2 separate regions of the Homo sapiens genome follow, and region 1 is linked to region 2. The links are contacts of gene promoters, found by promoter capture Hi-C in human tissues and cell types (Jung and others, 2019). All regions are on one chromosome and are shown on one strand. Each heading gives the region's core, a stretch centred on a gene start or on the middle of the fragment in contact. The rest is flanking DNA. Distances are from core to core; before and after follow the strand shown.

Region 1 (4,705 bases), core at 564-3,063, 40 kb before region 2:
CAAGGGAGATAATTTCTACCATATATTAAATATTACTTTTTAAAAAATTACATCACTATTTTAATTATATTCAGTGGATTCTAATTACTAAGACGATTTGATACCCATCATCATCCATAAATAAATGCTCAGAAATTTTCCATCTTTCCCCTTCCTTCTTAGAGTCATACTTCCATTTCATCTTTCTTATGGAACTGTATTACTCTGTTTGAAATTATATAGAGTACCCTATTGTATTTCTCTATAACAAAAAATCTTCAATTTCAAAATGTTTCATATGCTGTTTAACTGTAAAGCTTAAGTGTTAAAAATATTTCTTCTGGGGCCGGGTGCAGTGGCTCACGCCTGTAATCCCAGCACTTTGGGAGGCCGAGGCGGGCGGATCACGAGGTCAGGAGATCGAGACCATCCTGGCTAACACGGTGAAACCCCGTCTCTACTAAAAATACAAAAAAATTAGCCGGGCGTGGTGGCGGGTGCCTGTAGTCCCAGCTACTTGGGAGGCTGAAGCAGGAGAATGGTGTAAACCCAGGAGGGGGAGGTTGCTGTGAGCCGAGACTGCACCACTGCACTCCAGCCTGGGCGACAGAGTGAGACTCTGTCTCAAAAGAAAAAAAAATTTCTTCTGGATTGGGAAGTTATTTCAACTGTTATTAGTACCTAATTGATCAAAACATAAACACTGCATAAGCAGTACATTTTATTGCCAACATTATTTCCTAAATCAGCCAGTGGGGCAGGGTTTTTGCCCCCTCAATGAATCTACATATTTATGGATAAATGATTACAAGGTTATATAAATAAAACAGGTATCACCAGCAATCCTATTTTTTTTAAGGTTGAAAGAACCTAGTTTCCATAAAAAAGTGGAAGACAACGTGAGTTTTAGTAAAGCTGTGTCCTTCAATTCTTTAAACTCCTTTCTCAGTGCTTGATAAGCATTACATTCAGGCTGGTGGTTCCCTCAGAGGGTGAAGGAGAAGGGCAGGTAGAGAACATTCCAGAAGCAATGGGTCATGTTGCAGTGCTTAATCTAGGTAGCAGGAGCATAGGATTTTTGTATTGTTTTTCACTTTAGACATATTTCACCTTAGACATATTTCATAAGTAACCTTTTATATATACCCAGTACTTAATTCTAAAATAAGAGAAAAGAAATAGCAAAAACATATGAAAGATAAGCAACATTTATCCTTCAATCAAGCTAAATAAGTGAGGCTTATGGGGTATCCTTTTAAAGAGATTATTTTGCTTCCTTTCCTACAATGCATTAACGCCTGTCAGACGGTGCAGGATTTCAGATTTGATAGGTTTCCTTCAGCGGAGACACTGTATCTTCCCTCCAGACCTACTGCACAGACATCTGATTGGTATGCATTCATTTCTTACTAATGGGCAAGGAGGACTAAGGGCAAGTGAGACAGTACCATCTTGAAGAGTGGTTGGGAGGGACTTCACTGATAATGTGCCTTTGGGTCAGAAGGAAATGATGGAGCAGGGCATGCAGATATCCGGGAGAAGGTATTATCAGAGGAAACAGCATTTGCAAAGTTCCGTTGTACAACATGGTGTGAGCATGCGAGGAGACTTCCTATTTTGTTTTCAGTCACCTGGGAGGAGTCATTTCTTGCCCACTCTATACATCTCTGCACAGCACCCCATGCACCTCTCTAGGTACTCTATGTCACATTCTAATTATTTATGCACACACCCATGCTCTGCAGTAAGCTCTGGAGTCCTTTAGGGCAAAGAAATAAAGGCACAAGTCTCCAGGACGCTCACACTTAGTTTTTATTAGCCACAGTTTCCCACAGTTTTCTACCTCCTAGGAAATACACAGCTCACCAAGGGCACCCAGTCACCATTCTGTCCTGCTTGCATGGCTGACACTGTTGCTCACCGAGGGTGAGCAGATCTGCAAAGTCACCCAGGGCCTGGTTTCCTCAGGTACAGAGAACCCCAAAGAAAGAAGAGCCAGAACTTAGAGCCCCTTTCTTCTCCATATGGGATAGGACACCCAAGACAAATGACCCATGCATCATGAAACAGAGGCAGGGCCCTAAGCTGCCCAAGAGGCCTGGGCACTTGGAGTTCCTGCCAACAGCCAGGCCACTGAACCATTGCCTGTCCACCCTCCCACAGTGGCTAATCCCTGGCCTAGTTGTAAATGTCTTTTCAGCGCTGCACACTTAATGCAGTCGGATGCCTTCTGATTACTGGTCTCTGAGACCTTCAGCTGCTGAGGTGCAAGAATCAAGCATGGGCATGAAAGGCAAAGGGCTACCACAGCAGCATCGTTCTGCCTCCACCCTGGGCTACGCGACCCAGCCCAGCAGGCTGTGACCTAGGAGAGCTGCTCCAGCCTGGGGCATGAGGGGCCCTAGAGCAGGATGCCGGGGCTAGGAGTGGACTGCCCTGCTGATGGGTCGTTTTTCTGTGAAGAAGCTTTTCAACAGTAGCACCTGACTGAAGCTGACCACGAACAGGGCAATCGTCTCGCCAACAGACCAGTAAGAGACTCGGCTATTAAGGTCTTCTGCTCGGGCCCGGTCCTGGGCCTCCCGCAGCCGGTAATGCGTCTGGGAGTCAATCACCGTTTTCAGAGCCTCATGGATGGTCACGCAGGCGGACTCCATCTGGGCAGGAAGAGAAAAGCAGTCACACTGCTAACCCATAGACAAATGTGGGATCCAGCAAACAGCAAATGCTGTTGTCAACATCCTAGGTGATATCCACTGAATGCTAACTAAGAGTCTGTGCTAAGGGTTTTACGTGGTTTTATTTAATCCTCACAACAAGCCTAATTGAAGCTCAGAGAGGTTAAGTAACTTGCCCAGAGTCACACAGTTAGTATGTGGCTGAGTTAGAGTCTGAGTCCTGAGCCTATGCTTTCAAGCACTGCCCTATACTCTCTTATTCAATCCTTACAATACTCCTGATAGGCACGGATCATTACCCTCACTGTTAACGAGGGCTTATCCCACACACAGATGAGGAAACTGAGGCTCCAAGAGGCTACACGAATTGCCCAAAGTCATACAACTAATAAACAGCAAAGTGTGAACTAGACCACAGTTGTGTTTGGACTCTGAATCCACTGCTCATGCTCATTCTATTATGTAATTGCTGCCTATAGTTTTATGTATAAACACAAACACATGAAGACACACGCTTCATGTATGTAAGCACATGCACACACATGCAAAGACACATATATATAAACAGGCACTACATAGACACATACGCTCATGTGTAACACATACTACATCATAACTTTCTTTACCTGCAAAAATATTCAGTGTGGTAGGCAGAAGTCTGAAAATGTCCTTCCCACCACCACCAAGGTCCCCCGCCCTAATTCCAGAAAGCTGTGAATATGATGAGCTGTCACCTCTGTGACTGCATCACGTTAATATGACACAGCTGACCTGAAGATGGGGAGGTTATTCAGGCCTGATCCCATCACAGGAGCCCTCAGACGCCAGGAGCTTTCTCCAGCTAGTTGCAGAAGAAGTCAAGACAGTTCTGAAGCATGAGAAAAATTCAATGTGCCACACTGGCTTTGAAGGTGGAGGTGACCACTTGCCAGGACCAGAAAAAGGCCTCCAGGCGTTGAGGGTACAACAGTCAGCAAGGAAATGGGGACCTCAGTCCTACAACCACAAAGAACTGAACTCCACCAACAACCTGAATGAGCATGAAAGCAGATCCTTCCCCAGAGCTTCCAGGTAGGAGCCCAACCTGCCACCACCTCGACATCAGGCTTGGGAGACCCCAAAGAATCTGGCCAACCTGCCCAGGCTCACAGCATACAGAGCTGTGCGGTAATAAGTGAGTATTGCATTAAGACACTATGTTTGTAGTAATTAGTTACTCAGCAATAGACAACACATTATGCCTGTGGGAAAACGTTGAGTTCTTATTCAGAGGCAGCCTCTAAACCACCATGTATCCAAGACCTAGAAAATTCTATCCTATCAGTGAGTTCTCAGGCTAGAGGAATTCACAAAGCATGCACCAGACACTCACTTCAGTTCCCAAACTCCAAAGGCAAACTATTTGTAAAGTACAGTACAATAAACTAGAAAAGACCAAGTCACTCTGTGACCTCCCTTCCTGTGGGCGGCAAGCCACCCAGGTGCCGAGGCAAGAGACCGAGGGCACGAGCTGTTCCAGTATAATAAAATATATAAAATAAGAATAGTGATACTAGATATAGATCATAGATAGGATTATATATGAATATCATTAATCATTAGTTTGTGGCAATTACTCTTTATTCCAATATTATAATAATCCTTGCTCTACAATCATAACCTAGGAAAAACCAGGCCACACAGAGATAGGAGCTGAGGGGACATAGTGAGAAGTGACCAGAAGACAAGAGTGCGAGCCTTCTGTTATGCCTGGACAGGGCCGCCAGAGGGCTCCTTGGTCTAGCGGTAATGCCAGTGTCTGGGAAGACGCCCATTGCCAAGTGGACTGTGGTCTAGCGGTAGCGTCAGTGTCAAGGAAAAACACCCGCTACTTAGCAGACTGGGAAAGGGGGACTCCCTTTTCCCAGTGGAGTTCAGAGAAGACTCTACTCCTCCACCTCTTGTGGAGGGCCTGACATCAGTCAGGCCCACCCGCAGTTATCCGGGGACCTAACTGTCTCCCTGTGATGCTGTGCTTCAGTGGTCACACTCCTAGTCTTCTTTCATGT
Region 2 (5,165 bases), core at 2,661-5,160:
AGATGTTTGAAAGTTAGAACTGAATAGTGGTCCATTTGATGAAAGTGTCAACCAAAATCTAATTTACCTTCATTTGAAAATTTATCTCCTATTGTGCATCACAGTGAATAAATATTAAGAACACCTAATACTGGAAATATTAAATGATTTACAAGATCTCTAAGCTCGTTGGAGAGAAAAGAAACAATCTGGATTGAAAAAAGCTGAAGCATTCCTAGAATGTTGAGATCCCATCCACTTTGGCTGCTCTGGCCAGAATATTTTTGTCTTTAAAAATTAGCAACCATAAAGTGGGTTTTTTTCATGTGTTTCATAAGAAGAGTAAACTGAGAAGAGAGCAAAGTTTGCCTGGTTCCTCCCTTGCTGTACTCCCTGTCTCTACCCGCCAACCCCCCACCCCCACTCCACCCCCACCATCACTTTCACCTCTCTGGTCTGTTTTCTGTTGGACTCATTTCCACTATAATGGTGGCCACTATATCTTCCAATGGCACAGGGGCTGGAGAGGAAATACTGAAGATTAAAATATCACCAGTGTCAGAAAATTAAAATGATGCCTTCTTTCATGGAGGCAATAAGTAGATGCAAGTGTTTGCTATTATTGTCCTGATGTCCTTTGATTATTTTATTGTCCCCAAAAGTAAAGATGTCTTATATTTTTTAAGCTGAGAGGAGCCATCTTGTTCAATCTTCCATGTTTAGAAACAGGAAACTTAAATACAGGAATTGAAACTTTTCTCTCTCTGAATCCAGGGTCTTTCACTCCCATGCCTTCTCAGATCCTTGGCCTGAGTAGTTTAGACCAAGATTACATATTAAAGGTCTGACAGCCGATGTAGCCCACAGTCATGTCTTGCTTGGCTGGCACTGTGCTTTAAATTTTCTTTGAATGTTTTAAGATGGATTATTCACTCTTCAGTTTGAAAAGGCCCTGTCATTCTCCGTAGTCTTACAATTGGCCCGATTCACACATTCAGGTTACTTAACTGGCCTGTATAGGGATGCGGGTTTGTGTATGAAAGTAAAATACATAATATATAAAATCGCGATGCTAGGATTTTGTCCTTCCTGTCATTTTGTAGCTGCTTATCTCTTCAGAGTTGTTAGAAGGCCTAAATAAGCTAACGGATGTAAACCTTTATATAAACTTTAAAGTATGGTTTGCTCATGTGAACCATTATAAATTATGTAACTAACACTTAATTACCTGAGTGCAGATACAATGTCATACACTTTATTTCCCCTTCTTCAAGTCACACTGACATTGGATTTCCAGTTAAACATCCCTTGTTTGGCACAGTGAAGATCTCACAGAGGGCAAGGGATGGAATTATACAAAAGAGAAGAGTCTACGGACTTTTGCAAACATTTTCAAAGTTCCTAGACCTCCAAGAAAGTGCTTGGTTATACACTTTCTAGTACTTAGAGACCAGAGCAAGTTTCTAGGACTTTATAATATACATACTTTGTATTCATTTTATCTGTGGCTATAGCCTTAATCTTGTTTCACCTCTGTTTTCTCGACTACTTCGAATACGTGCAAACCTGACATCTTGTGGAGCCTTCTAAATTGCTTTAAATTCTTTGTGGAACAAAATAGAATATAATCAATAAACATTTATGAGATTAATCCATATGAAACTGCTGTTTCAAAATGGTTTTAAAAACCATTAATGTCACATATTTATAGTACTTGTCTAAATACACTTTAGTGCTTAACTGCCCCATAATTCAAGCTCCTGAGGATGTGCCAGTCCATGTGGAAGGATTATAAGCTAGAGAGGCGGGAGATCTGGATTCTAATCCCAGCTCTGCTACTAAGTACCTGAGTAATTTTGGGCAAGCATCATTTTGCCAAACAAGTAGAATAACCCCAGTCCTGCCTACTTAACAACATTGTTATAAGGATCAAATGGTAGGCAATATGTCCACACTCTCTATAAAGTCCTGTTAAAAAATCTAAGAGGCTATTACACACTGAACTAAGCTCATCCAGAATTCCTCCCACTGAGCCCCGCTCTGTGCCCAGTCCCTTTGGAGTGTGCTGAGGGAAGTGTTCACCACCAATTCTCCTTCTCTTCTAATTACCTGCTCCTTCCTTTCAGCCCCTAACACCCAACCACAATTCCCAGTTTGCCAGTCTTTCCACACATATGATCTCCTTGGCCACCCTCCCCTGACACTTTTGCAAGGAAAGCATTATCAAGTATTTACAGATAGTTAAAATCTGAAGTTCAGACACATTTAGTAATTTTGTCTAAGGGCACACGTTTTTAAGTGCTACAGCTTTGATTTAAACTCTGTTCCTCTGATCCCAAGTTCAGAGCTATTTCACGCAGGGAATTCCACTCAAGCACATCCTCCCACCACTGCAATCTGGCAGCGTTTAAGAGCGCAGCCATACCATTTGCTAGTTCCATAAACCTGGACAAGTTACTCGGCCTCTCTTGCTTCAGTTTTCTCATCTGTAAAATGGGGATACTCATAGGACACAAATTTGTGGTGCACTGGCTTAGCACGGGGCCTTGGCACATGGTAAGCGCTTAATAAATGCTAGATTTTTAAAGAAGTTTGGGTACACCTTCCGAAATCCGGGGAGGCCACACAGTTTGCCTGTAGTTTTCGCGGAAGCTTGGGAGATATCTTTACACTCCGCCTCTTCCTTCTGCAGTCACGGGAAGCAGTTAGAAGCAGATCAGAAATCGAACACGTTTGCTTTTGCGATTCGAGAGCCCTTTCTGGCGCGGAGCTAGGGGCGGTGTTACGTAGCTGCCCTGAACTGAGAGCAGCGTTGGCCGGGGGCTAGGGAGCCGGGCTGTTCCACGCTCACTGTGCGCCTCGGGCGGCGGGGCTCGGGCTCTGTCCGAGGTGCTGAACTCCGGGGCTCCGGCCGCGCCGGCAGAGTGTGCCAGCGTCCATTATTGCCAGTGTCTGTGGGCATCTTCCAGAAGGCCGAGCATGGGGGTCAGGTGAAACCAGGGCGGTAAGTGCTTCTCCCATCATTTCTCAGAAATGCTTAGGTGCCTACTTTTTACAATTTCGTGCACATTTTCAGGATCATAACCTCTCACCGCCAGTTCCTCACAGGTTTCTGCAAAAACTGACGACCTTTCTTCCCCTTCAGTCCCTGCAAAAATCCAGACACCTATCACCCAGCCCCGCTCCGCAACCATTTCCTACAAGAATCCAGGCCCCTACGCATCTCATCCCCACGCGTCAATGCAAAAATAAAAAATGTTAAATCCGCCTTCCATTCCCGTCTCCCACAATTTCCTGTGATAAAAGCAAGCTGTCTCCTACCAGTTCCCCACTCCTGCCTGTGGCTAAACAGCATGGACCGACTTCTCGGGAGCTCGAGGTCCCCACCCGGGTGACCAATGCAGACCCCTGGGGGTGCGCTTACCTGGTGGGGACAATCGCCGAGCGAGGCCACCTGGGTCCAGGCTATAGGTAGTGTCATTATTATTCCCAAAACAAAATCAGGGGGCGTCCAGCACCCCTACCTGCAGCTGCGGGTTGGCTGCCAGAGGGCACTGCCAGACTGAACCAGCGCCGGGAGCTGGGGCTACCCCGGGCCCCGCGGGTCCTGTTGAGTCACTTGCCCAGAACTTCTTCAAGGTTCGTGAATAAAACCTCTGCGTCAGTTCCTTCAAATCGGTCCACCGCTCCTCCAAGTTGCGGTGGGAGCAGGGGAGTTTTGGGTTTGGTTTGGTTTGGTTTGGTTTTAAGAAAAAGAAAGAAGCATGAAAGAAAGATAGGAATCGCCCCCGGTTCCGCGCTGCGGGTGTGCAGGTCTCTGCGCAGCCCCAGACCTCCGGCTTGGTCTTCGGCCGGCTGTGCTGGCTGACGACGCGCTGCTGCCCGCTGGCGCCGAGAGCAGCTCTCCAGCCGCGACGGGCGAGGGTTGTGTGGGTGTGCGAGCTGCGAGGAAGGAGGAAGGAGGGGGCCGCGGGGGTGGGGAAGTGCCTACCTGCAGCCTCGGCAGAGGCGCCTGCTGCCCCACCCCCTCGACCCTAGCTCTTGGGGCTCCGACTCGCTCAGCAACTTAGCAGGGGGCTCCTAGACTCCCCGAGGGTGAGCGCGGAGCAGGCGCGGCCACTCCTGGGGTCCGGAGAAGTGAGGGGACGCTCCCAAAGTCTGACGTTGCAGGTCTCAGACCCTGGCAGGAATTTGAACTCGTGTCCCCTTTGTTCTCTCTGCGGCCCTGCCCTCCTCGGCTTTCCTTCACACACGCCCTGGAATCTCAGGCTGTCTGTCCAAGGTGTAGGAAAGAGAGGGAGAGAGGAGGGTGCAGTGCGATCCTCAAAACTGGGAATAATTTGATGATCAGGGCTGGTTCCACGGCCGTTGGATTTCATTCCAAATCAATGTTTTAGCCCACCCGCTACCTATTCCCAGGGCCTCCTGTGGAGTCGTTCGCGGACAATCTTCGTTTCCTTTTTACAAAGTAGTTAATAGTTGCTGCATATGATTGAAAGCATAAGGCATTGTATTTAGGAAGTAAGTGGCTCATGCTTGTAATCCTAGCGCTTTGGGAGGCCAAGGTAGGAGGACCGCTTGAGGCCAGGAGTTCAAAACCAGCCTAGGCAACATAGTGAGACTTACCAAAAAAAAAAAAAAAAAAAAAAAAAAAAAAAAGTCTCTACAAAAAAAAAAAAAACTAAAATGCTTTCCAAAAAAAATAGAAAGTGAGTGCCCCCTCCTCCCCTACCCTGCAGTGTCCTTCCCCCACTAATCAGTTCCCCAGAGGTAACCAGCATTTTCGTCTAGATACATGTATATGCACACAGGGGTTCTATTTGCCCTATGTTTTTTAAATCCCTACTTCTTCAGTCATTTTTAGTAATTTATATTTTCCTAGGATATTGTCCATCTCATTTACATTTTCAAATTTTCTGGCACAAAGTTACAAATAGTGTCACCTTATATTTATTTTCATCTCTAAAACTGTTCTGGGCCTCCTTATTGCTGATATTATTTATTTGTGTTTTCTACTGCTCCATTCCCAATTTTTTAAATCAAGCTTGCTGGAGGATTATCAATTTTATCTTTTAAGGGCAAAAATATTATTCCATAAGTTGCCTTTATCACTTAGTGTGTCTATAGTATCACTTAGAGAAATGTACCCTCCTAGTACCCAATATTTATAATGACTGCCTACTGTT

The links. Contacts are between HindIII fragments. The study calls those that stand out against the background at their distance.
Region 1: a fragment that was not itself captured here is called in contact with the fragment with the promoter of ANKRD34C in region 2 in 1 of the 25 tissues and cell types used here (pancreas).

What each region holds. Positions count from the first base shown.
Region 1 is chr15:79,319,909-79,324,613 of GRCh38, reverse strand. TMED3 (transmembrane p24 trafficking protein 3) reads right to left here. Exons shown (of 3, transcript NM_007364.4): 3 at 1,774-2,636. The coding sequence ends at 2,400. Among named protein-coding and RNA genes, the nearest start is that of TMED3, 11 kb to the right of the region's middle. The HindIII fragment of the contact is 4,091 bases long and covers 1-3,858 here.
Region 2 is chr15:79,281,467-79,286,631 of GRCh38, reverse strand. ANKRD34C (ankyrin repeat domain 34C) reads right to left here and starts at 3,910. Exons shown (of 2, transcript NM_001146341.2): 1 at 3,404-3,910. ANKRD34C-AS1 (ANKRD34C antisense RNA 1) reads left to right here and starts at 2,687. Exons shown (of 2, transcript NR_038997.1): 1 at 2,687-2,983. RefSeq lists a silencer at 3,586-3,784 and an enhancer at 3,436-3,975. The HindIII fragment of the contact is 7,267 bases long and covers 1-5,165 here.